Regions from separate parts of the Homo sapiens genome. Here region 2 is linked to region 1. The links are contacts of gene promoters, found by promoter capture Hi-C in blood cells and fetal thymus (Javierre and others, 2016). All regions are on one chromosome and are shown on one strand. The core of a region is centred on a gene start or on the middle of the fragment in contact, and the rest is flanking DNA. Distances in the headings are between cores, read along the strand shown. Region 1 holds the start of ABCA5 (ATP binding cassette subfamily A member 5). Region 2 overlaps BPTF (bromodomain PHD finger transcription factor).

Region 1 (5,747 bases), core at 1,899-4,398:
TTTATGTATTATCTATGACTGCTTTTGTGCTACAACAGTAAAGTTATTGAGACAGAGACCATACTGTCTGCAAACCTAAAATATTTACTATCTGGCACTTTACAAAAAACGTTGGTCAACTCCTGTAAAAAGGAAGAAGAGGGGAAGTGAGAAAAGTGGCATATTCACTTAACATTTACTGAAGGATTTATGCATCCAACATTATGAGGCAAAAAAAATAAAGTTAGACACTGTCACTAACTTTGCAGAGAGATAAAATTTAATATAATGTGATAAGAGAGAAAGAGCCTGGAAAGGAGTGGAATGGAATTTCCAGGCAGAAAGAAAAGAATGGTAAAGCTAGACTCCCAAACAAAAGGGCTTGACTTTTGTGAAGAACAGGGATACCTGCCATATGGCAGAGGCATAAGGCAAAGTGAACCGGAGCAAGGGGTGCAGATGTATGTTCTAGATAACACGGTAAAGGCAGGCATTGGGAATGGATTATGAAGTTTCTGGTATCCAAAATTAGACACCCTAATTTGTGCACTCATATCTTTCCTCTACTGTACTTTTCACAACTGTGAGTCATGTTTAATTTCCTAGCAATCACATATTCCACTAGTCCATCACTTTCCCAATCCCCAAATCTCCAAAGCTTCCATCTGTAGGATCACCCTCAGATTATGACCTTGAATCCTACTTTACTGAGAAAACTGAAGCAATTAAAAGAGATTTCCAAAATCCACCACAAAGTAATGTTATACATTTCAACAATGTGCCATTTCAGCCTAAACTGAAGACTGATTTCATTACAACTCTGAAACACAAGAAATTAAATGCAATCTGGTATTAGCTACACTTTTAAACTAAGATATTTTTGGAATGAGAAATTAGGAACATATCTGGCACATGAAACAAACTCCTGCCTAGCTACATCATTTGCTTCTCAATCAATGAAATAAAAGCACTACAAAATATGCCTTTTAGCTTAAAAAGGGATAAATTATAAATGCTCTCATCTTCTTTATTGCTTTAAAATTTACTGTAAGGTGGTGCAATAATAAAACAAAATGCAGTCAGGTGCAGTGGCTCACGTGGCAATCCCAGTGGGAGGAAGGCTTGAGCCCAAGAGTTCAAGATCAACCTGGGCAACATAGAGAGACACTGTCTCTACCAAAAAAAAAAAAAAAAAAATAGCCAGGCGTAGGGGCACACAACTGTGGTCCCAGCTACTTGGGAGGCTGAGGTGGGAGGATCACTTGAGCCTGCGAAGTCAAGGCTGCAGTGAGCCAAGATCCTGCCACTGCACTTCATCCTGGGTGACAGAATGAGACCCTGTCTCAAAAAAAAAAAAATGCTAGTTGTCAATATAATTTAACCTAAATTTTATCACAGTGTTTCTTGCTGAGGGAGAAAATAACAATGCAATGGTACACAGAGGACAAGTCATCCAATAAATTTTCTTATGCATAATAGGTCCTTAAAAGCTTGCCCTTAAAACTATTTTTAATCCAACTAATTTACATACTAGAAAAGTTATGACTTAGTACAATATCATAAAATTCTTTTATGCAATCACCCTCTCAACTAAACTCAAGGACAGAGATTATAAATTGTATTCATATCGGTACTCTTGGCACATAGTATGGTATCTGGAATGTAAAAGACATGCAACAAACCAGCCTGGGCAATATAGCAAGACTTCGTCTCTGAAAAACAAATAAAAAATTACCTGGGCGCAGTGACACACGCCTGTAGCCCCAGCTATTCAGCAGGGTCCCTAGAGTCCAGACGTTCAAGGCTGCAGTGAACTTTGATCGCACCACTGCACTCTAGCCCGAGACGCTGTCTCTTTAAAAATAAAAGACATGCAATACACATGGAATGTACTAATAAATTTGCTCTTATAGTGAATGTAAGATTTCCCTACACTAAATCTGTTTGAAAGGAAATATACTCAAACAGCACATATGCAAAGATTAACGCCTCTTTAGTTTGATTTTAACACAAATACCCACAAAGCCCTAACTGCCCTAATAATGTTCCCTACTATGGAGTCTTCCCTAAAACACATACAATATTGCTCTCCCGGCAAACACAAAATATACTAAATAAAGCACCAGAATTAGGGTCTGGCAGCCCGGGTTGGAATCTCAACTCCATCCTTTTACTAGCTGAGACCTTAATAAGTTACTTAACCTCTTTGAGGCCCATTCTCCACACCTGCCCAACTGGAATAACCCCCTCCAATCCTACAGGGTTGCTGTCAGAATGAAAAGAGCTAATACCGAGCCTGGCTTAAAGCTGTAGTCCAGCAAATACTCCTCTTCCCTTAGATTCCTTCAGAACGCCCTTGTAGAAAGTAAACGTGGTTATTATCTTCATTATTTTCGGACTTATTTATTTAAAACGTAAATCGAAGCCTGAGGAGCCCAGGGGAAAACCTCCTTCAGCTTAATAGCTCCAGCCTGCCCAGCTTTCCGATCCAATTAAGTATTTCCATGCCTGGAGCTCCTATTCGTGTTTTAGGATCAGGGAATTTCCCTCCCAAACTGTGTCATGAGATCTGCGCATTTTCTTCTCACTGAAACTCCTTTTAACACGCAAGGTAATGATCCGCGCGTAACCTCGCAGGGAAGAGCAAGCGCTCATTACCCAGCTGTTCAGACGGAAATTTACATCAATATTTGTTTTCCTTCTTTCCCTGAGGTTGCTGAGGGTGGAACGACAGCGTCCAGGCAAAGGCAGTGTCCCGAAGTCCCACGGCCGGACCCGGTCCCAGGGGAGCCTCGCGGAGCCCCCGCCGCAGGGCCCCGACCCCCTCACGTCCGCATCCTGGGCGCTCCCACCGCATCCCCGAGGCTGGCAACCCGCGCTTCCCGGGAGCTGAGGGAGGTCTGTTTCCCTCAGCTCGCCGCCTCTGCCCGCTTCCGAGCCCGCTTCACCCCACACCTCAGACGCCGAACTCCCCTTCTCTCCCCGCCGTCCCTCGCTGGCCAGCCCCTCCTCGTCCCCTCAACTCCCCCAGGGACGGCTGTCCCAGGCTAGCCTCAAGCGCCGCCGCCGCCCGCGACGCCCGCCTCACCTCAGGGCCCGAGCCGCAGAGCTGTCAGGCCTGGACGCGCTCAGTCTGTTGACTCAGTGCGGGTGACCCAGCTGGGATCTGTGCGAGGGCGCGGCCGCGCGCACCCGCGCGCTCCTGGCGCAGGCAGAGCTGGCGGCGCCGAAGTCGCGCCCCGCCTCCTGCAGAGCGCACCTGAGGGCGGGGCTCCTAGAAAGCGCCGCTCCGCGTACGGGCGCGCTTCAGACGCTCGGCCCCGCGCGTCCCGGCGCACGCAGGCAAGCAGCGCGCCCGGAAGAGGAGAGCGGCTGAGGGTGGGGCGAGCGGTGGCGCGCCGCTGCCCAGGGCCCCTGAGCCACTAGAGTCGGGCCTCGTGGCTCTTCCCCAGGGCCTCCCACGCCTGGGTTCTGCGGGGATCTCGCCACGCTCTTTCTGGAGGCACGGGCAAAAACCACGGCCTCGTGTCTCAGTGGTAAACCTGCCGCCTCTTAGCGGGTGACCTTGGCCCACGGCCCTCTCCTCATCTGCCTCGCCCAGTCACGTCTCCTCTTAAGCATCCTTGCCGTCTGTCTCCTGGCATTTGGATGGGCCTCTCTGAACGCGTTTTGAGTCCTCTGCAGCCCCGCTTCCTCCCGCCGCGGCATCTGGAGTGCTGTGGCCCCGTTTCCGTAACTCTTGCCTCCCCTCCCCAGCCTCCTCATTGGCCCTCACACCCCGACCTGGGAGGTCCTCCCACTGAGGGTGCTTGTAGTTCGCGGAGTGTCCTCATCAAAGACTGGGAATGCGGCAGATGCTGAATTTTCCAAACGGCCTGAGACACATGACATCTGTGAGAGACTGGATACTGCACTTACTTTGCTAAAAATATAATCTAGTGTTTTGAGCTTCATTACTCAAAGTGACCTAAATGGGGTCAAAAGTTATTAACACTAACATTACGTATTTTCCTCTCCACATTTCTGTATAGTCACATTCCCTTGCACAAAGACTTTTTTTTTATTCTGTCAATCCTGTGTACATCATGTTTTTTTTTTTTACTTGTCTTTGTGTTATCTGCTTCTCGAATTTAAACCAGGTCTCCCCAACATGCACTCTGCTTTCTAAATTCTTAGGGGAAAAACAAACAAACAAGGAATCAAGTTTTACTTATGGAATATGAATTAAATAGAAAATTCAAAGAGGTTCGTCAGAATCCTTGATGATTAAAACAGCGGTCCCCAACCTTTTGGGCACCAGGGACCAGTTTCATGGAAGACAGTTTTTTCTGGGGGAGGGAGGATGGTTTGGGGATGATTCAAGCACATTATATTTACTGTGCACTTTATTTCTACTGTTACTACACTGTAATATGTAATGAAATAATTATACAACTCACCATAATGTAGAATCAGTGGGAGCCATGAGCTTGTTTTCTTGCAACTAGACAGTCTCATCTGGGGGTGATGGGAGACAGTGACAGATCATCAGGCATTAGATTCTCATAAGGAGCACGCAACCTAAATCCCTCACATGCGCAGTTCACAATAGGGTTCTCGCTCCTATCACAATCTAATGCCACTGCTGATCTGACAGGAAACGGAGTTCAGGCCCTAATGCCAGCCATGGGGGGCCCCTGTAAATACAGATAAAGCTGCACTCACTTGCCCTCCGCTCACCTCCTGCTGTGCTGCTTGGTTCCTCGCAGGCCACAGATCCCGGTAGCAGTCTCTGGCCTGGGGATTGGGGACCCCTGGATTAAAAGATCTAGCAATGGGGATGGGGGAAAGGGAGATAAGTATATTCAAAAAACTACACCAGGAAACTAAAGAAGGCATGTAATGAAAACTATCCCTGATATATTCTGTCTCTTTTGGAAACATCTAGAACATTTTAGTTACAAATTCTCAATGGCCTAGGATTTGGGGCCAAGTAAAGAAATATACATGAAAGATAAACTTGGTTAACATGTTACTGAACCATACTTTCACCCCAACACTTCTCACTAGTAGCCTTAACCTGCCTTAACTTCAGAAGTCTACTCATTTCTACTACTATTCTAGGCATTTATTTCTTACATTTCTTATCCTTGTAATGTTCTCTGTCATTCATTCTGTCTGCTCATGCTTTTACTCTTGTTTCTAAATGACATGACCAAAACCCAATTCTCCAAAAATCTCATCACCCTGGACAAAATGATCTCACTCTCCTCCCAATTGCCTACATACTACCATCTTGTTCACATCATTTTATTTACTTACCATCTCTTCAATTAAATTGTAAATAGTCTTAGGTTAAGAGCTTTTTCTTGACTTGTCTTTTTCTTTTCTTTTCTTTCTTTCTTTATTTTTGTGACAAAGTTTTGCTCTGTCACCCAGGCTGGAGTGCAGTGCCATGATCACAGCTCACTGCAACCTCTACCTCCCAGGTCCAAGTGATCCTTCCATCTCAGCCTCCTAAGTAGCTGGGACTACAGGTGCATGCCACCACACAGGCTAGTTTTTGTATTTTGTTGTAGAGACAGGGTTTTTCCATGTTGCCTAGGCTGGTATCAAGCTCCTGGGCTCAAGTGATTCTCTGTCCTTGGCCTCCAAAAGTACTGGGATTACGGGCCTGAGCCATAGCACCCAGGCGAAAGCTTCTTCTTATACCGATTTAAATTTCCAAGTCCTATGCATCATAGTATACAGTAAATATTATTAATGCTTCCAATGAGAAAACACATATA
Region 2 (5,747 bases), core at 2,625-5,124, 1.3 Mb before region 1:
TGAGTAAAATCTATTTGAAGGTATCTTGTTTGTAAACATTTGTCAGATTCTAATTTTTTTCTTTTGTATTAAAATTCAACTATGGATGTATATGAAACAAAATAAATGGAGATAATTTTTCTCCCACAGACAGAGGTGTCTTTGAATGTGCGCTAATGATTATCTGTAAGCCTTTGTGGGGAGGGAGGCCTGCAAGGTCATGAAAGGCAGAAGAGTCTAATTGTGCCTGGATTTCTCCAGGACAGCAGTGGCCCCTCGTTTTATCATTCCCAGTCCATTGTCATCACGTCAGAGAAAAATCTTCAGGGGTGCTAATCCTGTTGCATCAGTTGATCATACTAACGAGAACGGTAATGCGACAAGATACACATTGCCTTCATCTGTACATTCTGTGATACCAGGCAAATTACCAATTACACACAGCTACTTATATTTTATGAAGGGCATTTTTTAGATGACCTCATCCTCTGTGTTATTTGTTGATTGGGTTTGTTTTCTGTTTGTTGGTTTGTTTGTTTCTTCCACGTAAGGAAAAGTAGTGTAAACAGTAGCGAGAAAATGGAAACCACAGAGGAAGATGTATTTTGCATGTTTTTCCTTTCAGTGTTCTTACACGTTGTATCACTGCATTGTGGTAATAGCTTCTATAAAATCTGCCATAGTTGGATTATGCAGCTTTGCAAAAATTTTTACTAGATTTTGCACTAACTCATATTAGCTTTGTCCTACCAACTTCTGGAATTTATCTAATTATTGTTTTTCAAAGTTTCTTTCCTTTTAATGTTTCCCTGCTATGCAAAACCTTTCCCAGACCTCAGTTTCTTAAAAGAAAGATGTTGCTACAGTTCCCGATTCTTTCTTATTACAGGCTCAGGTGTACAGGTTATTCTGGGTTAATTTTATCTAATGAAGCCCATTCCTTTTTGTACATAAAGATGTCACTTAAACTTATGCTTACAAACTAAAGACTAATCGCTCAATATGAAAACATGAAAAAATTTTTGCTTAAAGTATTAAGATGGAAGTAGTTAAATATGGGTTATTTTGTCCTTTTACTTTTTTAAAAAATGTTACATATTGTATGCACTGTGCTGATGCAAGAATTCTACATTTTAATGAGTTATAAAATTATTCTGCATCTCATCACGTCACAGTATTTCTGTACTATTTATTCATATATATAAATATATATGGGCTTAATCATTTAAAATTTGTTGCAGCAAGAACTTTCCTACCTGTAGGCAATAGATTGCTATGTTTTTAACAAATTGTGGCAAATTCTAAACAGCAATTCTTTTGTACGTAATAGGACATTTCATCCTAGAAAAATAAAGTAATGTTTTTGACATTGGATTTGGTGCAGTTTCTAATGAAGCAATGGTTGGTTGGTTAATATGTTTTCTATAGCTGTTAGCCTTGCCAAATTGTACAAAAAGGATAAATTTTATGGAAATCTGAAACCAGGAAGATGTTAATTTCATATGTGTATTTAACGGTATAAAGTGTTGTATAGTTTCTATCACCATACAAATACATAGACATTTTATAGTTTCATCAACTACAGAGCTTTAGTCCTTCAGAAGTAATTTTTGAAAAACATACTTCTTTTTTTTTTTTTTTGAGATGGAGTTTCACTGTTGTTGCCCAGTCTGGAGTGCAATGATGCCATCTCGGCTCACCACAACCTCTGCCTCCCGGGTTCAAGCAATTCTCCTGCCTCAGCCTCCCAAGTAACTGGGATTACAGGCATGCGCCACCACGCCTGGCTAATTTTGTATTTTTAGTAGAGACAGGGTTTCTCCATGTTGGTCAGGCTGGTCTCGAACTCCCGATCCCAGGTGATCCGCCTGCCTCGGCCTCCCAAAGTGCTGGGATTATAGACATGAGCCACCACGCCTGGCCTGAAAACCATACATTCTTATAGAACATAATGAATTCCAAAAGCTGCTTTTCTGTGACAAGCAGAAATCTTTGACAAGCTTCTGCTATTCAGAAAGATCTACATAATACAGCTATTTTGCTTCCAATAATTCAGGCAGTAAACTGTACATTTGTGATATTCTTAGGATGTTTCTACCCCAGGCCTTGGGCTTATAAATACATTTAATTTGCATCAATAGATTTCCTTGGCTAAAAGTATTTTCAGTACCTGTTATACTTTACCTGCCAAGTTCACAATCCTTGAAACCATTTCATGAAAAGTATTTTCCTATTGGTAAAGCTTTTATTCTCCTATCCAAATTCTGCAGGAGGTTTAAATAAAATTGTGGCTGGGCATGGTGGCTCACGCCTATAATCCCAGCACTTTGGGAGACTGAAGCAAGTGGGTCACTTGAGGTCAGGAGTTGGAGAGACCTGCCTGGCCAACATGGTGAAACCCTGTCTCTACTAAAAATACAACAATTTAGCTGGACAAGAGGCACACGCCGGTAGTTCCAGCTACTCAGGAGGCTGAGGTGGGAGGACAGCTTGAACCCGGGAGGCAGAGGTTGCAGTGAGCTGAGATTGTGCCACTACGCTCCAGCCTGGGTGACAGAGCGAGACTCCGTCTCAAAAAAAGTGAGCTTTTGGAGATATTTTCTGAAGGAAAATAATTACCTTTTTATATTTCAAATGGCCTAGAGTGTTATTTAGAGACACTAAGATTTGCTGTTGTTTGTAATCTACCTTCCTAGGATCTGCAAATAAAAGTTACTTCCCTATTTCTGTTAATTCCTTTAGGCAAACTCTCTGCTGCTTTATGTTAAAGAGCCAACCTGGTGGCCTTTCAGATCTCTGCACACTTAGACAAAGCTACATGGTTATTACAGCTTTCGCTCTTCATGATTGAAGCTATTACCGTAGGTCTCAGACTTCTTGTCCTTAATGTGAGAATGGTGATATTTCATGGATAAAGTAATGAAGTACTTGAGGAGGTGGGGGTAAGAACCAGCTGAGAAGTATTTTTAATAATTTGAAACATTCTGAGGTACTTCTGGATACTTGGAGCGAGATACTAGAAGATTTTCTCAGAAGATCATACCGCTTGATCCAATTTGAACCAAATTCAACTAAAGAAATTAGCTATATTTTCAACTAAAATTAGCTATATTTTTAAAATGTTAATGTCCTGCTTTATCTAATTTATTTATTGCTTGCTCAAATATTTCCTGAAATTGAGGTGATGCATTATAGGTGGCAGGTCAGTTTTTATGAGTTTGTTTCTATGTGTGAATGGTCAGCCTTAAAAATGATTTTATCCGGGCGCGGTGGCTTATGCCTGTGATCCCAGCACTTTGGGAGGCCGAGGCGGGCGGATCACCTGAGGTCAGGAGTCCGAGACCAGCCTGGCCAACATGGTGAAAACCCGTCTCTACTAAAAATACAAAAATTAGCAGGCTGTGGTGGCACATGCCTGTAATCCCACTACTCGGGAGGCTGAGGCAGGAAAATTGCTTGAGCCCGGGAGGCGGAGGTTGCAGTGAGCCAAGATGGTGCCACCGCACTCCAGCCTGGCCGATAGAGCGAGATTCTGTCTAAAAAAAAAAAAAAAATTCAAGAGAAATACTAACAGTGCCAAATGATGCTTTCTTTACAAGGCAGTTGTGAAGAGCTATGGGTCGGGCGTGGTGGCTCACGCCTGTAATCCCAGCACTTTGAGAGGCCAAGGCAGGTGGCTCACAAGGTCGGGAGTTCGAGACCAGCCTGGCCAATGTGGCAAAACCCTGTGTCTACTAAAAATACAAAAAGTAGCCGGGCCTGGTGGTGGGTGCCTGTAATCCCAGCTACTTGGGAGGCTGAGGCAGGAGAATCGCTTAAACCCAGGAGGTGGAGGTTGCAGGGAGCCAAGATTGTGCCACTGCACTCCAGCCTGGGTGACAAGAGCAAGACTCAGTCTCACATAAATAAATAAACAAACAAACAGTGTATGTGTTTTATAGACGTTTTCCTACCCAAAGAAAAACAAGTGCTTGGCTGGGCGCGGTGGCTCACACCTGTAATCCCAGCACTTCGGGAGGCTGAGGCGGGCGGATTGTGAGGTCAGGAGATTGAGACCATCCTGGCTAACACGGTGAAACCCCGTCTCTACTAAGCATACAAAAAAAATTAGCCGGGCGTGATGGCGGGCGCCTGTAGTCCCAGCTACTCGGGAGGCTGAGGCAGGAGAATGGCGTGAACCCGGGAGGCGGAGCTTGCAGTGAGCTGAGATTGTGCCACTGCACTCCGCAGTGCGAGACTCCGTCTCAAAAAAAAAAAAGAAAAGAAAAAAAAGAAAAACAAGTACTTTTTTCCCTTGAATTGTAAAATAATAGCTTCATTTGAAGGAGGGATGCTATTGAATTACTACTGAAGGCAAGAGAGTATTCCATTTAGGGACTATTAATGTGTGCACATAGGCACAAACCCATTTGCTAAGAAAAATCTATCAATGGGACAAGATTATAAGAAACTATAGTGCATTTGCTCATTAAAATTTTCCATCAAATTGGCAGGGCGCAGTGGCTAATGCCTGTAATCCCAGCACTTTGGGAGGCTGAAGTGAGTGATTCACTTGGGGCCACAAGCTCAAGACCAACCTGGGCAACACGGCCAAACCCCGTCTCTACTAAAAGTACAAAAGGCCAGGCATGGTGGCTCTCAACTGTAATCCTAACACTTTGGGAGGCCGAGGCAGGTGAATCACTTGAGATCAGGAGTTCTAGACCAGCCTGGCCAACATGGTGAAACCCCATCTCTACTAAAAATACAAAAATTAACCGGGCGTGGTGATGGGCGCCTGTAATCCCATCTACTCGGTAGGCTGAGGCAGGAGAATCGCTTGAACCCGCGAGGCAGAGGTTGCAGTGAGCCGGGATCACGCCACTGCACTCCAGCCTGGGTGACAGAGTGAGATGCCATCTCAAAAAAAGGACAAAAGTTAGCCGGGCATTGAGGCCGGGCGCGGTGGCTCACGCATGTAATCCCAACACTTTGGGAGGCCGAGGTGGGCGGATCACGAGGTCAGGAGATCGAGACCATCTTGGCTAACACAGTGAAACCCCGTCTCTACTAAAAATACAAAAAAATTGGCCAGGCGTGGTCACCCAGGCTGGAGCGCAGTGGCGAGATCTTGGCTCACTGCAAGTTGCAAGCTCCGCCTCCCAGGTTCATGACATTCTCCTGCCTCAGCCTCCCGAGTAGCTGGGACTACAGGCGCCCGCCACCACGCCAGGCTAATTTTTTGTGTTTTTAGTAGAGACGGGGTTTCACCATGTTGGCCAGGATGGTCTCGATCTCCTGACCTAGTGATCTGCCCGCCTCGGCCTCCCAAAGTGCTGGGATTACAGGCGTGAGCCACTGCGCCCGACACAGACCTGGTTTTGAATGAAGACCTTAATGTTTAGCCAGGAAGTTTCTAAGAATCTGGCCTGCATGTGTTTGCCAAGGTGTGCATGTTAACTATGTGACCTCCAAGTATCACAGGTATCACAGCTCTGGCACTTTTTTTGTTTCCAGAATTACCCAGAAACGGACTATTATCAAACCAATCTAAGTCAAACCCTAAACTTAAGCTTCAGGATTATGTAAAAGTTATTTTTTTCCTTTTTCTTTATTATTATTATTTTTTTTTTTTGGAAACTGGGTCTTGCTCTGTTGCCCAGGCTGGAGTGCAGTGGCACAGCTCACAGCAGCCTTGACCTCCTGGGCACAAGCCATCCTCCTACTTCAGCCTCCCAAGTAGCTGGGACCAAAGGCACACGCTAGCACGCCTGGCTAATTTTTTTATT

What was found. Contacts are between HindIII fragments. The CHiCAGO score rates a contact against its expected background, and 5 or more counts as called.
Region 2: a contact is called between a fragment that was not itself captured here and the fragment with the promoter of ABCA5 in region 1, in 1 of 17 cell types (total B cells). The highest score is 5.6, in total B cells.

The regions. Positions count from the first base shown.
Region 1 is chr17:69,323,985-69,329,731 of GRCh38, forward strand. It overlaps ABCA5 (ATP binding cassette subfamily A member 5), which reads right to left and starts at 3,149. Exons shown (of 39, transcript NM_172232.4): 1 at 3,068-3,149. RefSeq lists silencers at 2,836-2,925, 3,056-3,435 and an enhancer at 3,516-3,655. The HindIII fragment of the contact is 4,188 bases long and covers 1,468-5,655 here.
Region 2 is chr17:67,983,026-67,988,772 of GRCh38, forward strand. BPTF (bromodomain PHD finger transcription factor) reads left to right here. Exons shown (of 28, transcript NM_182641.4): 28 at 1-1,353. Among named protein-coding and RNA genes, the nearest start is that of C17orf58, 11 kb to the right of the region's middle. The HindIII fragment of the contact is 3,310 bases long and covers 2,220-5,529 here.